2 separate regions of the Homo sapiens genome follow, and region 1 is linked to region 2. The links are contacts of gene promoters, found by promoter capture Hi-C in human tissues and cell types (Jung and others, 2019). All regions are on one chromosome and are shown on one strand. The core of a region is centred on a gene start or on the middle of the fragment in contact, and the rest is flanking DNA. Distances in the headings are between cores, read along the strand shown. Region 1 has its middle 51 kb from the start of CA10. Region 2 holds the start of CA10 (carbonic anhydrase 10).

What was found. Contacts are between HindIII fragments. The study calls those that stand out against the background at their distance.
Region 1: a contact is called between a fragment that was not itself captured here and the fragment with the promoter of CA10 in region 2, in 3 of the 25 tissues and cell types used here (dorsolateral prefrontal cortex, heart left ventricle and hippocampus).

Annotation. Positions count from the first base shown.
Region 1 is chr17:52,206,863-52,212,757 of GRCh38, forward strand. No RefSeq gene overlaps it. Among named protein-coding and RNA genes, the nearest start is that of CA10, 51 kb to the left of the region's middle. The HindIII fragment of the contact is 6,819 bases long and covers 1-4,923 here.
Region 2 is chr17:52,156,978-52,163,334 of GRCh38, forward strand. CA10 (carbonic anhydrase 10) reads right to left here and starts at 1,737. Exons shown (of 9, transcript NM_020178.5): 1 at 749-1,737. The coding sequence starts at 809. RefSeq lists a silencer at 2,292-2,586. The HindIII fragment of the contact is 19,034 bases long and covers 1-6,357 here.

The sequences.
Region 1 (5,895 bases), core at 264-2,763, 50 kb after region 2:
ATTATCTTTTGCTTCTTGGCTTTTGTCTTTATACTTGTTGCCTCAAAGGTGGCTGCAATAGTTACAGACATTACATCTGCATCCAAAGTAGAAAGAAAGGAGACAAGGGAAGAAATGCCAGTTTACTTGTTCTTTTTATGAGGAAAGCACATGTGTTTCCAGAAGTCCCCATCAGACTTCTGCTCCTCTCTCATTGCCTGAAACTCACATGGCCATTGTGAGCTGTATGGGAGACTGGACAAGCATTTAGCCTTCTCAGCCTATAGATGAATGTAGGCAAGGAAAAAGGGGCTGGCTGGAGGATGGCTGTTGGCTTTGCCAGCTAACAGTGTTTGCCACACATATCTTCCTGAAATATCTCAGTATTCAATCAATTGATGAACAATAAAGTGTAGCATTGTGTTCTCAAATCTGCTTTCAGTGGGCCTGGGTTAATCATTAAGACTGACTGAGAGTCAGCATGTCTTTTCAGGTGTCTGGTCTTCCCATCAGATATCAATATATTTTTAAATAAAGATCATGGAATTCTGTATTTAATGGAAGAAAAATTCACCCAAGCTTTATGCTTGGACCTCAGAAAAATGCACCCATTAGAAATTGGAGAGTAAATTAAGAGAAGAGACTTCCTTGAGAATTGGCTTTCCAGCACAATTTTCAGTACCATACAGTGTAGAAAGGCAAACAAGAAAGGATTGAAGATAGGTGAAGATTTACAAACAGGAAAGAGGTGCTGGAAGAAAGCAAAAAACGAAATGAACAAACAAAATTAAAATAATTTCATTCCACTTTCTACTCAAGTCCTAACATAGCATTTAATTTATAATGAGCAACACAATTTCCCTCCCTAGTTCCACCTGCTAGCTGGAATAACTGTAGGGAAACCCAGGAATTCTTTAGGATTGCTAGCGAGTTCACTGGGGTTATTTTCATTTTCTAGTTCTGGTATGATTACAAGTAGCTTTTTTCTTTTCATTAGTTATGTCACATAGAAATAGAGGGCACCTCAAACAATATGTTGATTGAAAGCACACAAAGCCATGACTCTGTCTAAGGATCAGTTTGGTCAAGGAGTGTACCTTGTGCTGTGTCTGTTCTGCTGGACTACATGGCACTCTAGAGTAGAACAGCTCTGCAGCCCCAGCAGATGGCCACTTTCTGTTTTTAGAAGAGCCGACTTGGGATGCCTTATGCTTTTAATCTTGTTGAAAGGCGTTCTAAAAACTCAGAGCCTATCAGTTGCTCTTCATCTTTTCCATTCAAGTGAGAGCAAAAATGCATTAAAATTAATTTATTATTTAAAACCATAGGAATGGAATGTATAATGTCCTTCACAGAAATGTAGAAATTAATTCTAGCAATAAACCTGAGACCAGACTGCAAAATCACGATGAACTATTCTAACCATCTGCATTTAACATTATGTGAAAAATTACCTAGTCAAAGCAGTCTATTATGTGCTTCCTTCTAGGTCTTCCCATCCCTTCCCTTTCTTTCTTTCCTTTTTTTTTTTCCTTTCTCTCTTTCACATAGTCCTTAGCTTAGGCCACAAAGGCAGTCAGATAGGTGATTTTGTTACAGCTGTGTACCTGAAGAATTCCACAGACTTTTATTTTAAGGTCTGAAAACACTTTTATTTGCAGTACTAACATTGCAAGTGTCAACTCTTTTGTGAAGGACATGATTACATCTAGTCTCTTTTTTTTTTTTTCACATACATCATCTAATGATATTTTCACGGTTAAAACTAAGACACTGGTTCCTTAAATTGAATTATGTTGAAAATGCATTTCTAGTTGAAGACAAGAATTTGATTTATTTGCTATCTGTATCTATACATTTTCATTGGTTAACAAGGCTTCAAATAGCTTTGAGTTGTCGGCTTCAAATAGCTTTGAGTTGTCAACTTCAAATATCATAATTGCCATGCTCATAAGTTGCACACAAGTGAAGGAAGTTGACTAACTTGTTGAGATATGCAGACAGCTGGATAATTTTTTTAAAGTAAATTTAAAATTATCTTTTTTTTATGATTCCTTTGCAAAAGGTAGTGTTTAAAGTATATAAAGAGAATGACTTCTAAAGGATTGGAGAGACCCTTAAGTTTGGAGAGCTAGAAGATACTCTCAGAGTTTAATTTTTCAAGTTTAGTCCTTCCCCCACTGCTAGTCTTTACTCCCCCACGTTTTTTTTTAAGAACATTTTTCTAGATAAGTGAAAGACTTCCCAAGGTCACATGACTCACTGGCATGAGATCTCACATCTCATTTCTGATCAGTGTTTATTCTGCTAAAACTGCTTTTCAATATGAAAAGCATTTTTAAAGGATTGAACGTACATTGAAATCAGACTCAGGTTGAAGGAAAGAGCTTATGTTTAACTGGTTATATTAAAAACTTCACACAGAAAACTTACATTAAAATGAATTTAAATATTTCTCAGGGAAATGTAGTGCAAGATACACACACTTGGGAGTCAGATGTATCTGGGTTTATATCTCAGCCCTGTGTTATAACCTTGAGAAAGTTATCTACCTCTTCTGAGCATAAGGATACCTATTTTGCACTGTTTTGAAAATCAGTACTGTATTTGAAATACCTAGTGTAGTACCTGGAATATAGTAGGTACTCAAAAAATCATGGCTTTTATCAGGTAACATAAAACCCAACTTTTATATAAGTGATGGTGAGGCTTACATAATCTCAGAAATACTGGGAAAAAAATGTGTACTGTGCTGGTGTCAGTGTAAAGAAAATAGGCTGATAAAAATGAGTCTAGGTAGGTAAATACTAGATGCTCACAATGTTAGTTCCTGCTTCCCTTGACATGAGTCAGCTCAGATGTTGAAGGCATTTCAACTAAAGGTATATATACCTTGCCTAGGTTCTTAGTCAGACCTGAGCAAGGTAGGGGGCAGAGTATCAGAACCAGCCACTCCAGCTGATGGGGCCTGGAACTATTCTTTGTATAGTACAGTACACTAGCCAACTTGCTTGGGAACTCCACCTGTATGGTTTTGGCACTTGGGTTAGTTTGTTCCCATGCTGCTAATACAGACATACCCAAGACCGGGTAAATTATAAAGGAAAGAGGTTTAATGGAATCACAGTTCCACATGGCTGGGGAAGCCCCATAATTATGGCGGCAGTCAAAGGAAGAGCAAAGGGATGTCTTACATGGCAACAGGCAAAACAGTGTGTGCAGGGGAACGCCTCTTTATAAAACCATCAGATCTCATGAGATTTACTCACTATCATGAGAACAGCATGGGAAAGACCTGGCCCTCATTATTCAATTACCTCCCACTGGGCCCATCCCATGACATATGGGGATTATTATAATTCAAGGTGAGATTTGGGCGGGGACACAACAAAACCATATCACCACTTTAAAAAACAAAAACAAAAACAAAACAAAACAAAACAAAAATCATTGGTTTGTGGAGCTTTGGTTCTGAACTGCTACGTTGGTGTCTTGATTCAGATACTGATTCCTCTAGTGAAGCCTGGGACACTTTGCTGAGACACTGACATCTCACCAAGTCCTTAACACCCATCTGTTTTAGAGATAGACACTGTTAACTTATAGCCTTTGATGCTGACTGCGCTCCTGTTCCATGTAGATGTTTCATTTGTAACCAAAATGCTTCCACTGCCTGGACTTGGTATTTCATGCAGCAGGAGAGCACAGGATTAGAATAAGCTCAACCTCACCACATCCTTCTGAATATCGTGATTGTACTGTGGGTTACTGCCATCAAGTACTTATCTTCTATTTAGTTAATTCATCCACCTAGATTTTATTCCAACCCAGTTTGTTTTCTGTCTCTCACTGATGAGCTTCCATAGTTGCTTGTACCAAGTTGTCTTGAGCTAAGAATTTTCTGGAAGATCTGCAGGTAAAAGAAAAGATTAATGTAGATATCATGGTTGAAGCTAATCCGTGCAGGGCATTAATATTGTCATATAACCTGCATTTCTTTTGAGCTACAACTCTTTGAAACTCTGTGTAAAGCCACAGCTAAGTTCTCAGAGACTTATTGTGGAGTTTCAGTGCTACAACTCTCTCCTTCCTAGGAGATTTGATGGAGCATGGAGTCATGTAAATAATGCAGAGTGATTGCTGGAAATCTGCCCTTCTGTCTGATGTTGACCCATGTTTCTTGTACAAAGTTGAGGAACCCTTAACTTTCTTCCCTGTTACTCATTCCACTATACAAAGAGCTTTGCAGATAGGCTTGCAAATGTCTTAAGTGGCAGTAGATAAACTAATTAGAAGCTCCTTTAAGGAAACTTAACATAATAAAAAATAAAGGCTGGGAGTGGTGGCTCACGCCTGTAATCCCAGCACTTTGGGAGGCCGAGGCAGGCAGATCACCTGAGGTCAGGAGTTCGAGATAAGGCTGGCCAACATGGTGAAACCCCATCTCTACTAAAAACACAAAACTTAGCTGGGAGTGGTGGCATGCACCTGTAGTCCCAGCTACTAGGGAGGCTGAGGTGGGAGGATAGCTTGAACCAGGGAAGCAGAGGTTGCAGTGAACAGAGATCGTGTCACTACACTCCAGCCTGGGCAACAGAGCAAGACCCTGTCTCAAAAAAAAAATCAGTTATAATTTTGGTGTTTATTTATGCAAATGATAACAAAACCCTAAAGAGGTCTTGGGTGCAATGTTTGGTCACTGAGGGGCTCTTGTGTGAGAATGAGTGGGACAGAAGGGCTTAGGTTGCTGTGTGCCAGTGCCCTATTTAATAAGTTCTCTTTTAGAGGCAACAGCAATTGCTCTTGCCTCTGTGGAAGGTAAAAGCAGAAACTCTGATGGAGGTCCCTGAATGACAATCATGGACTGTAAATATTAACTTCCACGGATCTATAGTTGCAATTTTTCCTCAACAAGGGCTCCTGACTTTGACTTATTTCAGATTATTCTCTATTATTTTGAAATCAGAAAATGAACTTGGTAGTTCAACATGTTTTTACAATTAGGTATATACAAAGATTATATTATAGACCCAACATGGATAAAATGCATGCTTTTTATTGTTTTTCTAGGAGTAGGGATGGATTTCTGCCCAGAAACTCTTACTATTGCCCTGAGTTCCCATTATGACTAATGACATGGATTGACAGGAGCCAGGAGTATCATCTGCAATCATGAACCAGAAGAAATTATATGGGTTAAAGAACCAGAAGTGCACGAATGGGACATAGATTACTGCAGAGCCACTTGTATTTGTTAAGATTCTTTTGGTCACATGCAGCAAAAATAACCCTGAGAAGCACAGGCACACTAAAGAATATTTTATCGTAGACACAATGTGGTATCTTACAGAAATGAGGGAAGAAATGAGTAACAGCCTCACGAGGGAAAGGAATTAGGACAGCATAGACACCTCCTCGGGAGGAGTTTTGGGCCTTTTGGGGGATGAGTAACAACACATCAGCTTTAATTGTTCCCAGTTTCCAAATGTTATTATTCCAAATTTCAAAATCCCATGGGGTCTTTCAGGGTCCGGCATCTATCCTTGGATTAAACTGTCCTGGTCAGTGGGATAGGGTCACACAGAAAGGGCAAGGCTTCCAGAGCATAATCCTGTCACCTATGAGTCCATCTCAGAGAAGGAGTATTTGTTTTGAGCTAGGCAGCCACTACCAAATTGTCTGCTATACACCTCATATTCCATTATGAATTCTCACAGTTAAAAAATTCCCAAGTACAGGCTGCATGAAAAATAAAAATGAACTACACACACACACACACACACACACACACACACACACCTTGAGTATGAAAAAGGAAATAAAGCAATTTGATGCTTATAGCAAAGATGCTGAATTCTTTCTTTTTTTTTCTGACAAGAAAGTTTATTTTTCAGCTCATAAAATATTGGTTACATG
Region 2 (6,357 bases), core at 487-2,986:
GGTGTCCACAAGCCCAACCTCTTTCACCTCAACACCCTGAAATCCCGTTTGCTCTTAAAAGCACAGACAGGCCCAAGTAGACTGAGAGGTCTGAGCCAGCACATCCTTGCTACTGGGAATTAAAAAACACCGTGATGTAAAGAAAGTGGTATTTGTGACACTGTAGTGCTTTAACAAGAAAATTGGGGGGGTAGAGGAGGGTGTGTCAGCAGGTTTCAAAGCATCACAATCAGTCCTGATGTGTTTGGGTAAGGCATGGAGGACATATCTCTGATCCCTGCTGGTACTCTCCAGTCCCGCATCCTCCCGCAGTCTCTTGAAAGTGGTTAGATACCCGGGCAGGGCCCCGCGTCCATTTTGCCAGCCAGGAACCACCGAGTCTGGGAACTTTGAAAGCCAGGGGATGGGGGTGGTTGTTGCCAAGGCTCGGATTTCGGCGCCAGAGTTCTCAGCCAGGAAAGCAGTTGAAAATCAACACCCATCTGCCTCTTCTTTCTCATCCCCCACCACTTTTTCCTTCACCCTTCTAGGACTGCACACAGATCCTAACCACCCCCCCCCGCAAAACACACACATTCACACACCCTTGGGCTGAGAAGATTTTTGATTCTGAAGGCGGCAAACCCGCAGAACTCAAAGGGTCTCGCCACCCCTCTCTCTGCCCCGCGGCTATATACAATAAAACCCCATACACCCCAGACATCACAACATAATCCAAATCAGCCAGTGACTTCGGCGCGTCCCGTACCTGATATGCAGACGATGAAATTGGCTTGAAGAAGAAAAAGCACCTCCCAGACTATTTCCATCCTCTGATTCTCATTCCAAGTGCATCACTCGACGGGAAAACGGGGGGAAGGGGGGAGCCCGACACGGCACACACACATACACACTCGCACACACTTCCGAGCGAGTGCACACTCGCACTCCCACCCGACAGCCGGCCAGGGACAGTCACCCCCAAGATCAATATCGCAGTTTGAATTGTTCCGGCAAATCTCCCCTCGGGCTCGACGGATGTGCGCCCCAGATGTGCTGACACATGTCCGATGCCTCGCTGCCTTGGAGGTCTCCCCGCTCGCGTGTCTCTTCTCTTCGCACCAGCGGCGGAAACCGCACTAGCAGCGGCGGCGGCGGCGGCGGCGGCAGCAGCCACCTGAAGCCACCAACACTGGGCTCTTCCAGCAAAAACGAGACCCCGATTCGTCTGGCGCCCCAAGAAGACATAGACGATAGCCCCCCGCCGGGCTGCGCCGTGCAATTCCGGGCTCCCGGGAGCGCGTAGCTCGCTGGCTAAGCCCAGGCAGTCCGCGGCAAGTTGCCCTCGAAGTCCGCCCCCCTCACCGGGGCATGGTCGGAGGGTGGCTGCTGCGCTCCGGGGCAGTTCTTCTCCTGCTTCCGGGGGGCGGGGAAGGAGCAGACACAGCAGACACACAGAGAAAGAGAGGCAGGGATTATTGCCCGAAACCGCCAGCCGCCGGCAGCCTCCGCCGACCCTCCCTGCTCCCCAGGTCCGCGCGCAGCCTGCAGCCTCTCAGCCGGGTTCCGGCAGTGCGTCCAGGGCGCCGAGGGGAAGGGCTGGGCCCCGGGGACTGGGGCGCGGTGGGGGCACACAGACTCTCCAGGTCGCGCGCGCCCTTCCTGCTCCTCTGCTATTTTCCTGAACTCCCCAGAACCCCCAGTTGCCTGGCTTCCATCGCCCGCAACTAGCGCCGCTGTCGAGATTTTCCGCAATACAACTGCAGGGGTCGTTATTTCCTCGCCTACGGATCCCTACGCTTCCCAACTCAGAGAGGAGGAGGACAGGTGGGGGCGGGAGGGGGAGGAGGAGAAGGAGGCTTGGCCAGGTGAGCGTCCTCGCCGCCGCCGGGCGTCCCAGCGTCAGCTCCGCAGCCCGGCACCCGGGGGCGGAGGCAGGAGGCCCGGGCGGGGAGGTGAGGCTGAGCGCGGCCATGAGGAGGAGGAGGAGGAGGCTGGGTGTCACAGCTTCAGGCCACCTTGGCCGCCGCCTCGGCCCCAGTCCCTGGCAGCCGCCTCCGCACTCCGCCCCGCCCTGGCTGCCTCTGTTACCCTCCAGGATTTTCGAGTTTCTCTTCTTAAAAAGAACTTCGTGCTGCGGGTTCGGCGCGGGAGACCCAGGCAGGACTCATCCTGGGAGTGCTGTGCTGTGCTCTCCCTCCGCTGCGAAATATTGGAGATTTTTTTGCATAATTCATTCCCTGCCCTCTCCATTTCGTCCCTCTCATGCCCCCCACCCTTTACCCCTTTCCGTGCCAGTGCCAGAACACTACTTACCCCAGAGTTCTTTTCTCTGCAGGTTCCTAGACCAGGTGCAACTCTTGCCTGCAAGTCCCTGCCTCCCTCCTCCCGAAAAGGGGGAACACCGCCTTTCCAAGTCCGGGTGCCAGCAGCGGCTGCTGCCAACTGCGCCTTCGCCCAACTCCAGGAGGATCCGGGACTATTGGAAACCCGGGCTTTAGAGGAACGGGCTTCCCTTCTTGTCTTTCTTTTATTCTGCTTTTCTTTAGGGAAGCTCTAGTGCTTTGGAGGCTTTTGCTGGGCTCCAGGATACTTTCCGCCAACGACACTCAGCAGCTTCCACTGAAGGAGATTTCCCCACCAAACCCGCGCGCGCACACACACACACACCCAGCGCGCGGCTCTCCAGGGCCCCAGGGGAAAGTAGGGGCGGCGCGAGCACCACCCACCCACCCAGGCCGAGGCCAGGGGCAGCCAGTCCGCAGAAGGTCTCGTGGGGAGGCGGGCTGTCTATAACCTAGGAAAGACTTGCACCCGGTTGCAGTGTGGATGCAGGGGAATTGAAGAAAACCCTGTGCTCAGAACTGCTTGCCTAAGAGGGCTGGGAACGAAAGGGGAAAGACAAAATCTCAACAGATTTGTCTGCTTCCATCGCTGCAGTGGTGGTTTGCGAAAGCTCAAACCTACCTCTTTGGGGTTATTGAAGAAGAGGAGGGAGCGTAGAGGGAATCCCTGGGAAGATCCAGGATTTCTCGGCGCGCTTGTCCCGATTGGGAACTGTGACGTTAGGAGATTTTGCACAAGCGCGGATGAACACACACATAACAAACACAAACACACACATACCCCGCGGGGATTTTTTATCCACTTTTAATATTTGATGTTTAGAAGCTATTTCAGTATAAACCTCGGTCTAAGAACTGCACAAAGGGTAGATAAGTGGAGATGGAGGAGGGGAAGGAAAGGGTGCCCGTTCATCCGCACAGAGTCAATCTAGTGAATCTTCCCGTGTTGATCCCAGCACCCAGGCTGTGCGACATCTGAGGGTGCGGAGTGGGAGCTAAAGGAGTTACATTACAGTGCTCCCAGGGTTCTTGAAGGGACTCCAACTGCCCAGGAGTCTGGCGGGTCTTTTTGCTGAGTGGCGGGGAGAAGAGGGAGGAAAAAGAGAGAACGCAGAGCAGATCAGCAGCTCTCTGAGCTGTCTGGGCTGGGCGGCTGCGGGAGCCAGAGCTACGTAGTCCCACCGACTCTAGGGATTCGAAAAAGGAACCGCCGACAGACCTGCCTACTCTTAAAGAAGGAGATGTGGCCGTGAGATCTGTTCTGTGAAACAAAGGCCAAGGACTCTAGGTGGTCAACACATTAAAAATCTAGGCCCAGATGAAATAAATCCAGCATTCTTATGTAGAGAGCTTCCAGGCTCAGCAGGGAAAAGCATGAAACTTCAGAACATTAAAAGAATTCCGGATAGTGAGAATTAGCCCATTTGGGAAATATATGGGGGCATTTGTCTCCGTGCCTTGAAAGTAGACTGCATGAAGAATTATTATTATTTTTTCTTTCTTTCTTTCTTTCTTTCTTTCTTTCTTTCTTTCTTTCTTTCTTTCTCTCTTTTTTCTTTTTTCTTTTTCTTTTTTTGAGGAGAGAGGGAGAAAGAAAAAAAAAAAAGCAGTCTGACAAAGATGAGCAGATTCCAGCCTGGTGAGAGTTCAGAACCGTGGACAGCGACCTACCATCCCTGCTTGGGTGGGGAGATAGGCTGGCAGAAGAGGTCTCTCCTCTGGAAGCAGAAGCATGGTGCCTGAATTTTTATGTCACTACCCACTCATTTACTAATGAATTCTGCAATTATTAAGTGTCTTATATGTGTCAAACACTGTGGCAAGATGCTTGGGCTTTGTAATTGAAAATGCATTATCCTTGCTTTCAAAAAAATCTGCAGACCATATATCCCTCTATATTCTGCTTTAAGAGCCAATGCCAGTAAAATAATACTTTATTTCCACCCTTTCAGTCTGCATACTCACCTCCAGCATTCCCAAAGAATATTTAATCTGTGATCTGCCACTAAGTGCTTTCAGTTTTTAAAAAAGGCAACTCACATGACAGTATTTGTTAGTTTAAAAAAAGTTTGAGTGTATTGATTGTTGTGTGTGAAGTATTATGTGTATTGATTGTTATGTGTGAAGACTATGTGTGAAGATTCTGAATCCCTTACATAAATTATCTCATTTAATCATCATAATGTGATGGTGAGATAAATGTCATTATCACTTCCCTTTTACTGACAATAAAACAATACCAGGGTAGTTATTTGCCCAAGGCTCCACAGCTGCAAATCAGTAGTGTAGAGACCATAGCTGGAAAGTCTAAACTCAGAAGTCATGTCACACCACTTCCTTATATGCTCTGTAAAATGAAAAATATCATCTTGGGGAGGTTATTTTGCACTTAAAGAGAACAGAAGTACACATATGACAGCTGGAAGTTAATCAAAGGTGGTATTAAAATTTAATGGTAGACAATGCAATTTAGAACCCAACTACATTAGTTGGGATAAGGAAAAGATCACTGGGAATCAGAAGTAATCAAAAGCGTTTCTAATGATAGAATTTTGGCACCTGCTAGATGTCAGTTCTGGTTCTGGCACTTGGAATACAGCAGTGAACACAATAGTCCCCAACATATTGATTCCATACTAGCAATTGCTAGAAGAAAGAGCCATACATTTTTGAGTCATTTCTAGGCTACTACATTTCTAGAGTAGGTTGCTATATGTTTTTCTGAGAAATTCACCATCTTAATACAGAAAATAACTCAGTAAAAAAAAATGCATTAAATAGAAGCCTTTAAATTTAAGTAAATTCTGCCTCTCTTTTTTGTTGTTTTTTTAGCCCAAAAAACAAACCAAATAAATGTGGGAAAAAAATTCCATGAAGCTAGAAAATATTCTTAGACGTTTTCATATTTTAATGTGCTTATATGTATATCTAAATAACTACAAAGAATCTCTCCACATCATACCCGCCTTTATCTTTTGTTCCTTTCCTACTCCTCTACATTTCTGCACTACAAATCAAGTGTAAGTATCTTACACATTTAACAGAGAGTCTTGGCCAAGCCCACCCAAGTGTGAGAGATACCAATTGTCCTATAGAAAGCAAGGAATTATATTTCCATTTTCCAAGAGAGAATAATATTAAATTCCTTTGGGTTCTTCCTGTACCTTCTCTTTCACTCAACGCCATAGAAGAAGGGATGACTCAACTGATGATAAACTTTTAAGAGTTTGACTTTCATTAGGGTGCATTTATCAGAGGCCAAGCACACTGTATTAGAAGACAAAGGAAATCTATACCTCTTCCCACTTCTCTATTTTCTTGGTAATGCTACCTTCAGGCACAGTGAGCTCACAATTTTAGTGTGTGTACCTATGCATATTTATTTTGTATGCCACTCTCAAAGAGCAGAGCTAGTAAGGTCTCTGCTTTCTTGCAGTACTTAGCTTTCTGGGGCCAGTCACAATCATGCATGTGGCTGGGAAAGCATATTTAGAGCCTTCTTTGTAGACCCAACCATCCTTATAAGTGATGTTCTAGTTTTGAATTTGGGGTGAATAATTGGAAAATGCCACTTCAAAACACATCAAGCTCTATTTAAGGACTGTCCCATTCCCATTTAGAAAATGTTTCTATTTTTAATTGCTTAGATGCCAGAGGGAAAGAAAAGTTAGTGATGAAGCTACCCCTAACTTCTACCAAAAAGATAAAATTACCCAAATAAATGGAAAGATATACCATGTTCATGAATGAGAAAGCTCAATATTGTTAAAATACCAATTTTCCCCAAACTGATCTATAGAGTCAATATAATCCTAATAAAAATCCCAGCAAATTTTTAAATAGAAATTGTCAAGCTGTTTCTAAAATCCATATAAAAATACTAGGGAACTAAAATAGCCAAAACACTTTGGAAAAAGATAAACAAAGCTGGAATATTTAAATTATGTAACTTCAAGGCTTATAAAGCTATAGTAATCAAGACAATGTAGTACAAGACAATGTAGTAGAATATAGACAAATCAATAGAACAGAG